Linked DNA regions of Homo sapiens: region 2 is linked to region 1. Evidence: promoter capture Hi-C in 16 types of primary human blood cells and fetal thymus (Javierre and others, 2016). All regions are on one chromosome and are shown on one strand. Each heading gives the region's core, a stretch centred on a gene start or on the middle of the fragment in contact. The rest is flanking DNA. Distances are from core to core; before and after follow the strand shown.

Region 1 (5,631 bases), core at 1,412-3,911:
CACCTGTTTATCTGTAGAATAAAAAAGTTAAATTAGAATGTCTGAAGCAATGTTCTTCAGTATAATCAATATTACTTCAAAGATTAATTTTAATATTTTAACTTCAATTAATACTGCCAAATCTACCCCCACCCCTAGCAGTGGCTATCCTGATTTATACTTCTACTAAGAATATTCACTTTTCCACAAAATTGATATTTTCAAATTTCAGTTTTAGCCAGTGTGGGAGAAAATGGATCTCTCTATTTTTTTGCTTTGCATGCCAGCATCACTAGTGCAGTTAAGCATCTTTTTTATGTGGTCAGTTTTATTTCATTCTTACTTCTTCATCTATTGTCTATTTATACATTTGCCCATTTCTCTGTAGGGTTGTCTTTTTCTTATATATATTTGTTTTCACTATCTATTCCAGATGTTAATTCTTTGTGCACTGTATGTTTCCTCTTTTTAAACTTTATTCATGGCATTTTTGTTCTATGAAACATTTTAGCCCATAATCTCACATCATGGAAGAGTAATTACCTTGCAAACCTCTCTTGTCTACTCCTACTCAGTAGCATCAAATCCAGTTGATTCAAGTCTTGCCCTCTCTTTAGAGGAAATATAGTGTGGTGATTAGAAGCATAGGCCAGGCATGGTGGCTCACACCTGTAATCCCAGCATTTTGGGAGGCCAAGGTGAGCAGATTACCTGAGGTCAGGAGTTTGAGACCAGCCTGGCCAACATGGTGAAACCCCGTCTTTACTAAAAATACAAAAATTAGCTGGGCATGGTGGCGCATGCCTGTAATCCCAGCTACTTGAGAGGCTGAGGCACGAGAATGGCTTGAACCCAGAAGGCGGGGATTGCAGTGAGCTAAGATCACGCCACTGCCTGGTGACAGAGCTAGACTCTGTCTCAAAAAATAAATAAATAAATAAAATTTTTTTTAAAAAAATAAGCATAGACTCTAGGACCAGGCACAGTGGCTCACACCTGTAATCCCAACACTTTGGGAGGTCGAGGCGGGCGGACCCCTTGAGCCCAGGAATTTGAGACCCGCCTGGGCAATATGGTGAAACCCTGTCACTATAAAAAAAATACCAAAAAAAAAAATAGGCTGGGAGTGGTGGCTCACGCCTGTAATCCCAGCACTTTGGGAGGCCAAGGCGGGTGGATCATGAGGTCAGGAGTTTGAAACCAGCCTGGCCAAGGTGGTGAAACCCCGTCTCTGCTAAAAATACAAAAATTAGCTGGGCATGGTGGCAGGCACCTGTAATCCCAGCTACTCGGGAGGCTGAGGCAGGAGAATCACTTGAACCCGGGAGATAGAGGTTGCAGTGAGCCAAGATCGCACCACTGCACTCCAGCCTGGGTGACAGAGCAAGACTCCATCTCAAAAAAAAAAAAAAAAGCCTAGCTGGGCAAGGTGGTATGTGCCTGCGGTCTCAGCTACTCAGGAGGCTGAGGTGAGAGAATTCATTGAGCCCGGCAGGTTGGAGCTGCAGTGAGCCATGATGGTGCCACAGCCCTCCAGCCTAGGCAGCAGGAAAGAGGCCCTTCTCAAAAAAAAAAAAGCATAGACTCTAGGGCCAAATTGATGTGCTCAAGCAAAGGTTTTGCCACTTACGGTGTAACCTTGGGCCAGTTGCTTAACCTCTCTTGACCTCACTTGCCTTCTTTGTAAACCAGAGGTGATAATAGTATACCCATTTCATAGGGCTGTGGTGAGAACTAGAGGAGTTAATACATTTAAAGAGCTTAAAAGTGTCTGGTGCATAGCAAGTGCTACGTAAATGTTAAACCTTTCCTGCCCTTTTCCTCTGCTCCTCCTTTCCCTTGTTTCCTGTTACAGCATTCCTTCTTTTTTTCTTACTATTTCCTCACTATGCCTTTGCTTGAATACTAAAAAGAAACTACTGGTCCAACAGCAGGCAACACCTCATGCGATTACTTTAAATGACTTCAAAATAATACAAACATATCCAGCACAATAGTTTACATTTTAAAGGTGTTACACCCATTTTGTTTTGAGATGTGTCAACAAAACCCGTGTTTCTTTTCTTTCTATAAGTTTAAAATGTCCCCAAATCAATTAACAATAGAGGAAAGTCACACGATCTGTTTTAATTTTTCTCTTTATACTGCTATCTCCTGTTTCCCCTGTTTTTACACTTCTTTGCAGCTCACTTTCCTTATCTGTAAGATATTCTTAGGATGAACTTAGTAAGAAATGTGCAAGATCTAGATGAAGACCCACCAGATAGGATGCTCTCTTGCAGACACGCAACTCACTGACTCAACCAATGAGGAAATTATCCCACAAAGCAGATAATCCTAATGGAGGGCAGAATTCAGGACTGAGCATCTCAGTGATGCCGCCGGGAACCCAGGCTTCTCTGTCCCTTCACCGGACTAACCGAGTTCGAGACCACAGGGGGGTCAGGTAGCCAAGGCTGGGCTTTGACGGTAGGAATGAAGGAGGTGAGGGTGGCGCGCCGCAGGCCTGGGCCACTCCCTGAGTAGGGCGGCGGCGGCGGCGGCGGCGGCGGCGGCAGCGGCGGCAGCGGCTGCAGGCCTGGCCGATTGTGAGGAGACAGCGGTACCTCCTGGGCCGCGCACCCGACCCTTCCAGGGGTCCCGGCTCGCGCCGCGGCCGCGCGAGGCGCGCTCGAGCGGAAGTGGCGGCGACCCCGCCGGAAGCGCGCGGCTGCGGCGCGGGAAGCAACCCAGAGCCCTCCTCCCGCCTGCTCTGTGTAGGAGACAGCCTGCGGAGCCCACTGCCGGCGCGCAGAGAGCCCAGCAGCTCTTGAGTCCAGGAAGCAAGGGTGGGAGGAGGGACGAGCCAGTGGCAATGACCCAGACCCGGACGACCCCCATTGCTGAGCCAGCGGAGCTGCTTGGTGAGTGGCCTCCAGGCGGCATCTCTTGCTCTCAGCCCGGAGGGGGTTTTGGGGACCCAGGCTGTGGGGCTGCCTCTTCCCATGCCTTCAGTTCACCCCGATATGGGGTGAAAAACCCTAGAGACCCTCGGGTGTCGGTCCACCAAGGGAGGTCCAGACTCCCCAGGAATGTTGCCTGGGGAGGGGTGTCGCGGTGGGGGGGGGGGTGACCCAGGCCCACCCTCTGCAGGGCACTTAAAATGCTCCACATCCCCAGTGGATGCCTCCTGTCACGCATCACACCGTGGTGTATTTGAGATCCCATCTGCCACTTGGGCTGGAGGGAAATGAATGTTTTTGGGTTTCTTGTCATTGCTTCCTGCGGATTCCATTTTACTCCTGTTCGTTTATGGCCTCAAACATGAATTTGAAGAATTTTGCCCTCCCTGGCAGTATTGGGAAGAAGATTCTTTTGTTCAAGTCCGTTTGGACAATTAGATGGGAGTATTAACAAAAGGTCGGGCTGGGCACAGTGGCTCACACCTGTAATCCCAACACTTTGGGAGGCCAAAGAGCAAGGATCGCTTGAGCCCAGGAGTTCGAAACCAGCTGGGGCAACAGAGGGAGAACTTGTCTCTACAAAAAATTTAAAAATCAGCTGGGCATGGTGGTGCACGCCTGTAGCCCAAGCTATATGGGAAGCTGAGGTGGGAGGATTGCTTGAGCCCGAGAGTTTGAGGCTGCTGTGAGCTGAGATCACGCCACTGCATTCCAGCCTGGGCAACAAAGCAAGACCCTGTCTGAGGTCAACTCTGCCCCCAGGAAGGTATGGGACCTTGCAATCTTATCTAGGTTGCGTCTTTTTCATTGAAATCACGAAATCATTAAGGTAAGTAGGGAAGGGTCAAGATAGCTAAGATGAGTGAGGGGACACAGACACCAATAAAAGTTCTAACTTTGAGGACTCCTCCAGTATTCTTTTCATCCTAAAGCTTCTGGCCTATCAGCTAGTTCAGACACAGCCTAGGAGTCTCAAGCCAGTACAGGAACAAGGAGGCAGGTTGCCCTCTTGGGGCAAAGCTGTGGCCCCACCCTTGATGAAGAACGCCTGTAGGAACCCAGGACCTGTGAGCAGGTAGAGTCCTGAAGGTTTAAGATTCTGTGGAGCAGGTATGTGCAGTGCCAGTGCGCAACCAGCAACTGATGGACAGGAATAGGTAGAGCTGCTCTGAGTGCATTCCTTTGGCAAGCCTGGGCCAGAGGCACACAGGAAGGAATTAGTCATGTGGTATCATAGGCCAGGTGTGGAAGCAAATGAGCCAGAGTGGAACCAGGACCAGCCAGGGCCAAGGCAGGGAGAAGAGTTCCTCTAGCTGACATTGACAGGAAAGCAGAGTCAAAAACCTGGAATGGTTTGCTTCAAAGACTGGATGCTGCCTAATGACCTCGAAGGCCAGTGATACCTGGACTCTTGAGTGAGCAAGGCAGATTTTGGAATGAGCACACAACTTCAAGTAAGCCCGGAGATGATTACCTGTAGTTTCTGCTGCTCTTAGAGGCAGAATCATCTGAGAACTGATTGAGGAGTGCATGTATACCCCAGAGACTAGTGCACTCTAGGATAAAAGGAGTCATTCAGCCCTTACTTTTGGTTGGATGCAGGGTGTAGTTTCAATAAAATGTCACAGAACAAATTTCTAAGACCTTTAGGTTGAGTGAGTGTTAGAGTTTGTCTAGTAGTATATTTCTCATCAGTTACCTATTTAGCTGTTCTGCATAGGCCTTTGAGATAAGGAAATAAGTAAGATAAATTCTCCCCAGAAACCGCAAAACAATTATAATGTTGAGAGAAGAATGAAGTAGTAACTCTGTCTGTACTGAAGAAGGAATTCGGTGTACAGAAAAGAGGTCACTGCCTGAGGTCGGGAGTTTAAGATCAGCCTGGCCAACATGGTGAAACCCCATCTCTACAAAAATACAGAAATTAGTCGGGCATGATGGTGGGTGCCTGTAATCCCAGCTACTCGGGAGGCTGAGGCAGGAGAATTGCTAGAACCTGGGAGGTGGAAGTTGCAGTGAGCCAAGACTGTGCCATTGCACTCTGGCCTGGGCAACTGAGCGAGACTCCGTCTCAAAAAAAAAAAAAAAAAAAAAAAAGTAACGTGACTGGTCACTGTGAGCTGGATTGGAGGAAGGTGGGAATGGAGACTAAGGGCTCTTGCTGAGAGGAGTTTGAGTAAGCCTTTTTCAGGTTCTCTTGTCTTTAGCATTTAAATCCTGGACTTTATAAGTAGACTGACAGTTGTGGCATCAACACAACTAAAAGGCAGGGTTACCCTCTTAGAGTACACTTGGAAAATCAGTCTGAAATGAAAGAAACTTTCTTGGTGAAGTGGAAGTGGAAGTTTTGGTTGGGTGCAGTGGCTCATACCTGTAATCCTAACATTTTGGGAGGCAAAGGTGGGAGGATTGCTTGAGACCAGGAGTTTGAGACCAGCCTGGGCAACATGGCGAGATCCCTTTTCTTTTTCTTTTTTTTGGGGGGAGACGAGGTCTGGCTTTGTTACCCAGGCTAAAGTGCAGTGCAATGGCATTCTAACACTCACCCAACCTAAGGGTCTTAGTATCCATACAAAAAGCATTGACAAAAAGCATGCCATATGTTAAGATCAAGGTTTATCTTTGGGTGTTGAGTGCAACACTTGTTATAAGAAGCAAAATAAACTTAGAAGCAAAGGAGTGGATGAGGATCTGTCTTGGGGGAAAATCC
Region 2 (6,074 bases), core at 2,167-4,666, 390 kb after region 1:
CCACCATGATTAAAAAAAAAGGATGCCGGGCACAGTGGCTCACGCCTGTAATCCCAGCACTTTGGGAAGCCGAGGCGGGCGGATCACCTGAGGTCAGGAGATCGAGACCATCCTGGCTAACTCGGTGAAACCCCGTCTCTACTAAAAATACAAAAAATTAGCCGGGCGTGGTCGCGGGCGCCTGTAGTCCCAGCTACTCGGGAGGCTGAGGCAGGAGAATGGCGTGAACCCGGGAGGCGGAGCTTGCAGCGAGAGGAGATCGCGCCACTGCACTCCAGCCTGGGCGACAGAGACAGAGACTCCGTCTCAAAAAAAAAAAAAAAAAAAAAAAGAATGCAGAGTAGGTTGGAGGAACCAATAAAAGGATCATGTGAGAGGAGGAGTTTGACCTATTTATTACTCTAACTGTGGGCTTATGCATAGTTTCTCTTTTTTCTTCTTTTATTGAGTTGCAGAATTGGAGAGGGATAGGATTCAGGATGCTGACTAAGGATAATCAACCTCTTAGTAACAAAGAGAAATTAGCTAATCCAGAGTCTGAACATCTTTAAGTTTAGTAAACTCTGAGTGGCTGATAAATACCTCTTTAAAGATATAAACATGTATTTCATTAAGCAATGACATATTAAAATTAAATGAAAATATGTGTGCTTTTATTTGGTAATGACACATCAACATCATATAAATGTGTGTATGTTTTTCCCCTACTTAAGAATCCTGGTGTTTTCATTAACCTAGCATCAAAGGAGAGAATATATTTTACAGAATACAAAAGTCTTGATACTGGCTCAGATGAACTGATTTAGACTGAAACATTAATGAATATGCACAACTATACTTAGGTTTATATTAATATATTATGATCCAACTCACTTTTCTGTATGCCCTCCTATGTTTAACAACTGCTATTATTTTTTTTTCCCTGTGTAAGATTAACTTCTTTTAACAGGAAACTTTTCATTTGGCATTCTTAAATCCTTTCTTCAGGGGTACAGCTATGAAATTTATGGTACCACTACCATAGTTAGATCCAGATCTGTAAGAACTGAATTTCTAAAGTTCTATTCACATTGTCTCTATTACTAGAATCTAGGCGAATTTGCTTTCTGCTGCAACCAAATGGGCAGTTGTCCAGTTAATGACGGTTTGGATATTGTGAGGCATGTTTTGTAAAAAAACACATTTTCTTTTTTCTTTCTTTTTTTTTTTAGAGACAGGGTCTTGCTCTGTTGCCCAAGCTGGAGTACAGTGGGTGATCATAACTTTCTGTAACCTCGAACCCCTGGACTCAAGTGATCCTCTCACCTCAGCCTCTTGAGTAGCTGGGACTAAAGGCATATGGCAGCATATCTGACTAATTTTTAAATTTTTACTTGTAGAGTCGGGGTCTCACTATTTTGCCCAGGCTGGTCTTGAACTTTTGGCCTCAAGCAATCCTCCCATCTCAGCCTCCCAAAGCACTGGAATTATAGACGTGAGCCACTGTGCCCAGCAGAACATGTTTTCTTTATCATTGCTCTGTGTCAGGTGATATTACCTAGAAGTCTGGATGGGGGACTCAAAAATCTAGCTAAATGTGTGCATTAAAATGTGTTACTTTGAGCAATTTGGAGCAAGAAAAACCCAGATTTATGTACTATGTCTGTTTTGTCAATGCAGCATTTAAAAAGATCATTACCTATTTCAGCAAAGGAGTGATGAGATGTGATTTATGGTTTAAAAAGCTTATCTGGTTGATGGTTTAAAGAGCTCATCTGGACCCTGCATGGAGACTATAGAAAGGAGAAGTGTGAAGGGTGTAAGGAATGTACAGTCAGGGAGATCACTTAAAGGACTACTGTAGCTTTCCAGCTAAGAGATGAAGGTGGCTTAAACTACAGTGAAAGCAGCAGTGAAGAAAAATGGGCAGATCTGAGATGTTTAAAGGCAGAATTAACAGGCCTTGCCCAAATGTTAGATGTGGGAGTAAGTGAAGGGGAGGGATGAAGTTATTAGTAATTCTCTTACTCTAAAAAACTCTATTTTATGCTACTGTAATTTGTAATGTTATTACTTCATTCTATCCTTATTTGCAGTTATCTTATTTTACTGTACATTATTAGTTTTCCCTAAGTGATGCTTTATTGGGACTATGATATACCTTATCATGTGAATTACAAGGGGCTAGAATGTTGAGAAATGAAAGAAAGGTAAGTAAAATGATTTCAAATTACTCGTGGTATTACTTGGAAATCTGACCTACAAGTTATAGATCAGGCAACTTTAACTTTTGGATGCATAGTCAGTAATTAGAAAATAAAAAGCGGCCAGGCACGGTGGCTCACGCCTGTAATCCCAGCACTTTGGGAGGACGAAGCGGGTGGATCACCTGAGGTCAGGAGTTTGTAGACCAGCCTGGCCAACAAGGTGAAACCCCGTCTCTACTAAAAATACAAAAATTAGCCGGGCGTGGTGGCAGGCACTTGTAATCCCAGCTACTCGGGAGGTTGAGGCAGGAGACTCGCTTGAACCTGGGAGGTGGAGGTTGCAGTGAGCCGAGATCACGCCATCGCACTCCAGCCTGGGGGACAAGAGCGAGACTTCGTCTCAAAAAAAAAAGAAAATAAAAAGCCAACTCAGGTGTCACAAAGTATATTACTATGAGATTCTAAGAAATATTAAAAATAAACAATTACTAGCTAATAAAATGGTTGCTGATTACAAATATATTCAATCAGAAAATTTTTATTTCAAGAAGGTATAGCAGTAAAGAAAAACATGCCTGGGAATGTGAATATTCTTTGAAATTGATCCAACAAAAGCATGCTTGCATGACCAAGAGAGAGAACATCCATTGAGCATCAAGTTCAAAGCAAAATCATGCTTGCATAAGGAACATGGCACCCATCAAAAACAAACATCAGCTTCTAAAATGTGTTTTAAACTTAGGAATGTGTGTGGGTGTAACTGAAAGTACACAGGCTAATTTAGAGTGGGACCTGGGAATGAATCTGTTTCTGATTTTTCACTGGCTGTGTGCTTTTGTAGAAATTACTTACTAGTTTTCATTCTCAGGTTTCTTAGCTATAATATGTAGAGACCACCATCTACCCACTGGGCTGCATGGGGATTAAATGAAATACTGCAAGACATTATAGCAGGCACTTAGTAAAAAGGATTTCTTCCTCCTTTTTATCTGGAGAAAGTTATGCCAATAAGACAAAGTACTATGTACGTATATATAAAAAGGAACAAAAGAGGCACATTAATCTGATGGAGGGGACAGTGGAGACAGTCAGAGAAGGCCTCTTGGAGAAGTCTCTTCAAGGAGCAGGAAGTCACCAGTAGGGACAGATGGAACAATCCAAGCAAAAGCAGCAGCATGTACAGAGGTATGGAAATGAGACAGATAAACATAGGGAGAGCAGGACATTCTAAATGATCTGCAGTATCTAGATTATGTATTGTAGTAACTCTAAGAACTAACACTATTGAGTGGGATAGTGGGTATTAAGTTTAATAACATAAAATAATATATAATTTTTTTTTTTTTTGGAGATGGAGTCTTTCTCTGTCTCCCAGGCTGGAGTGCAGTGGCACAATCTCAGCTCACTGCAACCTCCATCTTCCAGGTTCAAGCAATTCTCCTGCCTCAGCCTCCCGAGTAGCTGGGACTACAGGCATGCATCACCACACCCAGCTAATTTTTGTATTTTTGGTAGAGACAGGATTTCACCATGTTAGCCAGGCTGGTCTCAAACTCCTGACCTCAGGCAATCCGCCCACCTTGGCATCCCAAAGCATTGGGATTACAGGCATAAGCCACCATGCCTAGACAATAATAGATAATATTTATTACAAGCCGGGCATGGTGGCTCACACTCGTAATCCCAGCACTTTGGGAAGCTGAGATGGGGAAGGATTGCTTGAGCCCAGGAGTTCAAGACCAGCCTGGGCAACATGATGAAACCCCATCTCTACAAAAAATTTCAAAATTAGCTGGTTGTGGTGTTGTGCACCTGTAATCCCAGCTACCTGGGAGGCTGAGGTGGGAGGATGGCTTGAGTCTGGGAAGTTTAGGCTGCAGTGAGCTGTGATTGTGCCACTGCACTTCAGCCTGGGCAACAGAATAAGACTCTTGTCTCAAAAAACAAATATTACTAAGCATTTTCTATACGCTTGGCACTAGTCGAAGTATTTTGCCTGAATTAGGGTTATTATAAGGATTCACTGAGTTAGTAATGTAAAATACTTAGAAGAGTGCTTGGCACAGAATAACTGTGAATTATTATGGGTTTTTTTTTCTGGAAATTAGGAATTGAGGTTATTTCTTAGGAATTGAGGTTAGTTCTCATTTGTGAGAAATTGGGATCTGGGAAAAGTAAGAAATTGTTGAAGAGAGTGGGGGCATGAGGTTCTCAGTGAAACACAGGAATGCTGAGCAGATACCCATACAGAATTGGTGGGAACAATCTGCCCTAGTGTGTAACTTCATAAGCACTGCATGCCTGTGCTCAGGAGTAGGCACTAAGAAAGCAGATAGCTGGCACCGAGATGGATGTGATGACAAAGAAGGGGGCAAGGGAATCGAGAGTATTGGCAAGAAAATAAAGTGTTGGGCTGGGTGCTGTGGCTCACGCCTGTAATCCTAGCACTTTGGGAGGCTGACGCAGGAGGATCACTTGAGCCCAGGAGTTTGAGACCAGCCTGAGCAACTAAGTGAGACCTTTTTTCTACAAAAAAAAAAAAAAAAAAGAAAGAAAAAAAGGCCGGGCACGGTGGCTCACGCCTGTAATCCCAGCACTCTGGGAGGCCGAGGCAGGTGGATCACGTGGTCAGGAGATCGAGACCATCCTGGCTAACACGGTGAAACCCCTTCTGAACTAAAAATAGAAAAAATTAGCCGGGCGTGGTGGCGGGTGCCTGTAGTCCCAGCTACTCGGAGGCTGAGGCAGGAGAATGGCATGAACCCGGGAGGCGGAGCATGCAGTGAGCCGAGATAGCGCGACTGCAGTCCAGCCTGGGCGAAAGAGCAAGACTCCGTCTCAAAAAAAAAAAAAAAAAAAAAAAAGAAAAAGAAAAAAATTAGCCAGGTGTGGTGGCACATGCCTGCAGTCCCAGTTCTTCAGGAAGCTTAGGTAGGAGGGTCACTTGAGCCTGGGAGGTTGAGGCTGCAGTAAGACCTGTTTGAGCCACTGCATTCTAGCCTGGGCAACAGAGTGAGATCCTGAAAAAAAAAAAAAAGAAAATAAAGTGTTGGACTTTGATTGTAACCCAAGAAGAAAGCAAAATGGAGAGGGCTGAAAGTTTAGGAAAATATACACTAGAATATAAAAGTCTATAAGGGCAGGAGCTTTTGTTCTGTTTTGTTTACTTCTTTGTATCTCCAGTGTCTAGAGCCGTGTATGGGAGAATTAGCATGCTGACACAATTCTACTTTCTACACTTGTATTCTACTTATGGAATAGTCATGACGGTAATTAAGACAGACAGACTCATAATCCTATCAAATCTTCAGATCTACTAATTACCAATTTACAGTAAATCAGGAGGGCAGAAGATGTTAAAGGACAACATAAGGATATAAAATTGCAGGGAAAAGAAAAGGAGCGGGGCAGGGGAAACAGATTAAAAGAGACAAAAAACATTTCAATCATTTGGAAGGTATGGACATTATTGAGATCCTGATTTGAACACACTATAAAAAATTAGGACATAGGCCCGGCCCGGTGGCTCAGGCCTGTAATCCCAGCACTTTGGGAGGCCAAGGCGGGTGGATCACCTGAGGTCAGAAGTTAGAGACCAGCCTTGCCAACATGGTGAAACTCCGTCTCTACTAAAAATACAAAAATTAGCTGGGTGTGGTGGCGTAGGCCTGTAATCCCAGCTACTCGGGAGGCTGAGGCAGGAGAATCACTTGAACCGGGGAGGCTGAGGCTGCAGTGAGCCGAGATCGCACCACTGCACTCCAGCCTGGGCGACAGAGCAAAACTCCGTCTCAAAAAAAAAAAAAAAAAAAAAAAATCAGGACATAATTGAGGAAATATGAACACTGAGTATTTTGTAAGTATTATTATTATTTTATTATTATTATT

Evidence for each region. Contacts are between HindIII fragments. The CHiCAGO score rates a contact against its expected background, and 5 or more counts as called.
Region 2: a contact is called between a fragment that was not itself captured here and the fragment with the promoter of KHDC1 in region 1, in 1 of 17 cell types (non-activated CD4 T cells). The highest score is 5.3, in non-activated CD4 T cells.

What each region holds. Positions count from the first base shown.
Region 1 is chr6:73,260,535-73,266,165 of GRCh38, forward strand. It overlaps KHDC1 (KH domain containing 1), which reads right to left and starts at 2,662. Exons shown (of 4, transcript NM_030568.5): 1 at 2,240-2,662. All of the region lies in intron 2 of LOC122539213 (KHDC1-KHDC1L), which reads right to left. It also overlaps the pseudogene KHDC1-AS1. RefSeq lists a silencer at 2,506-2,775. The HindIII fragment of the contact is 4,328 bases long and covers 1-3,851 here.
Region 2 is chr6:73,645,482-73,651,555 of GRCh38, forward strand. All of the region lies in intron 1 of SLC17A5 (solute carrier family 17 member 5), which reads right to left. Among named protein-coding and RNA genes, the nearest start is that of SLC17A5, 5.5 kb to the right of the region's middle. The HindIII fragment of the contact is 3,388 bases long and covers 1,723-5,110 here.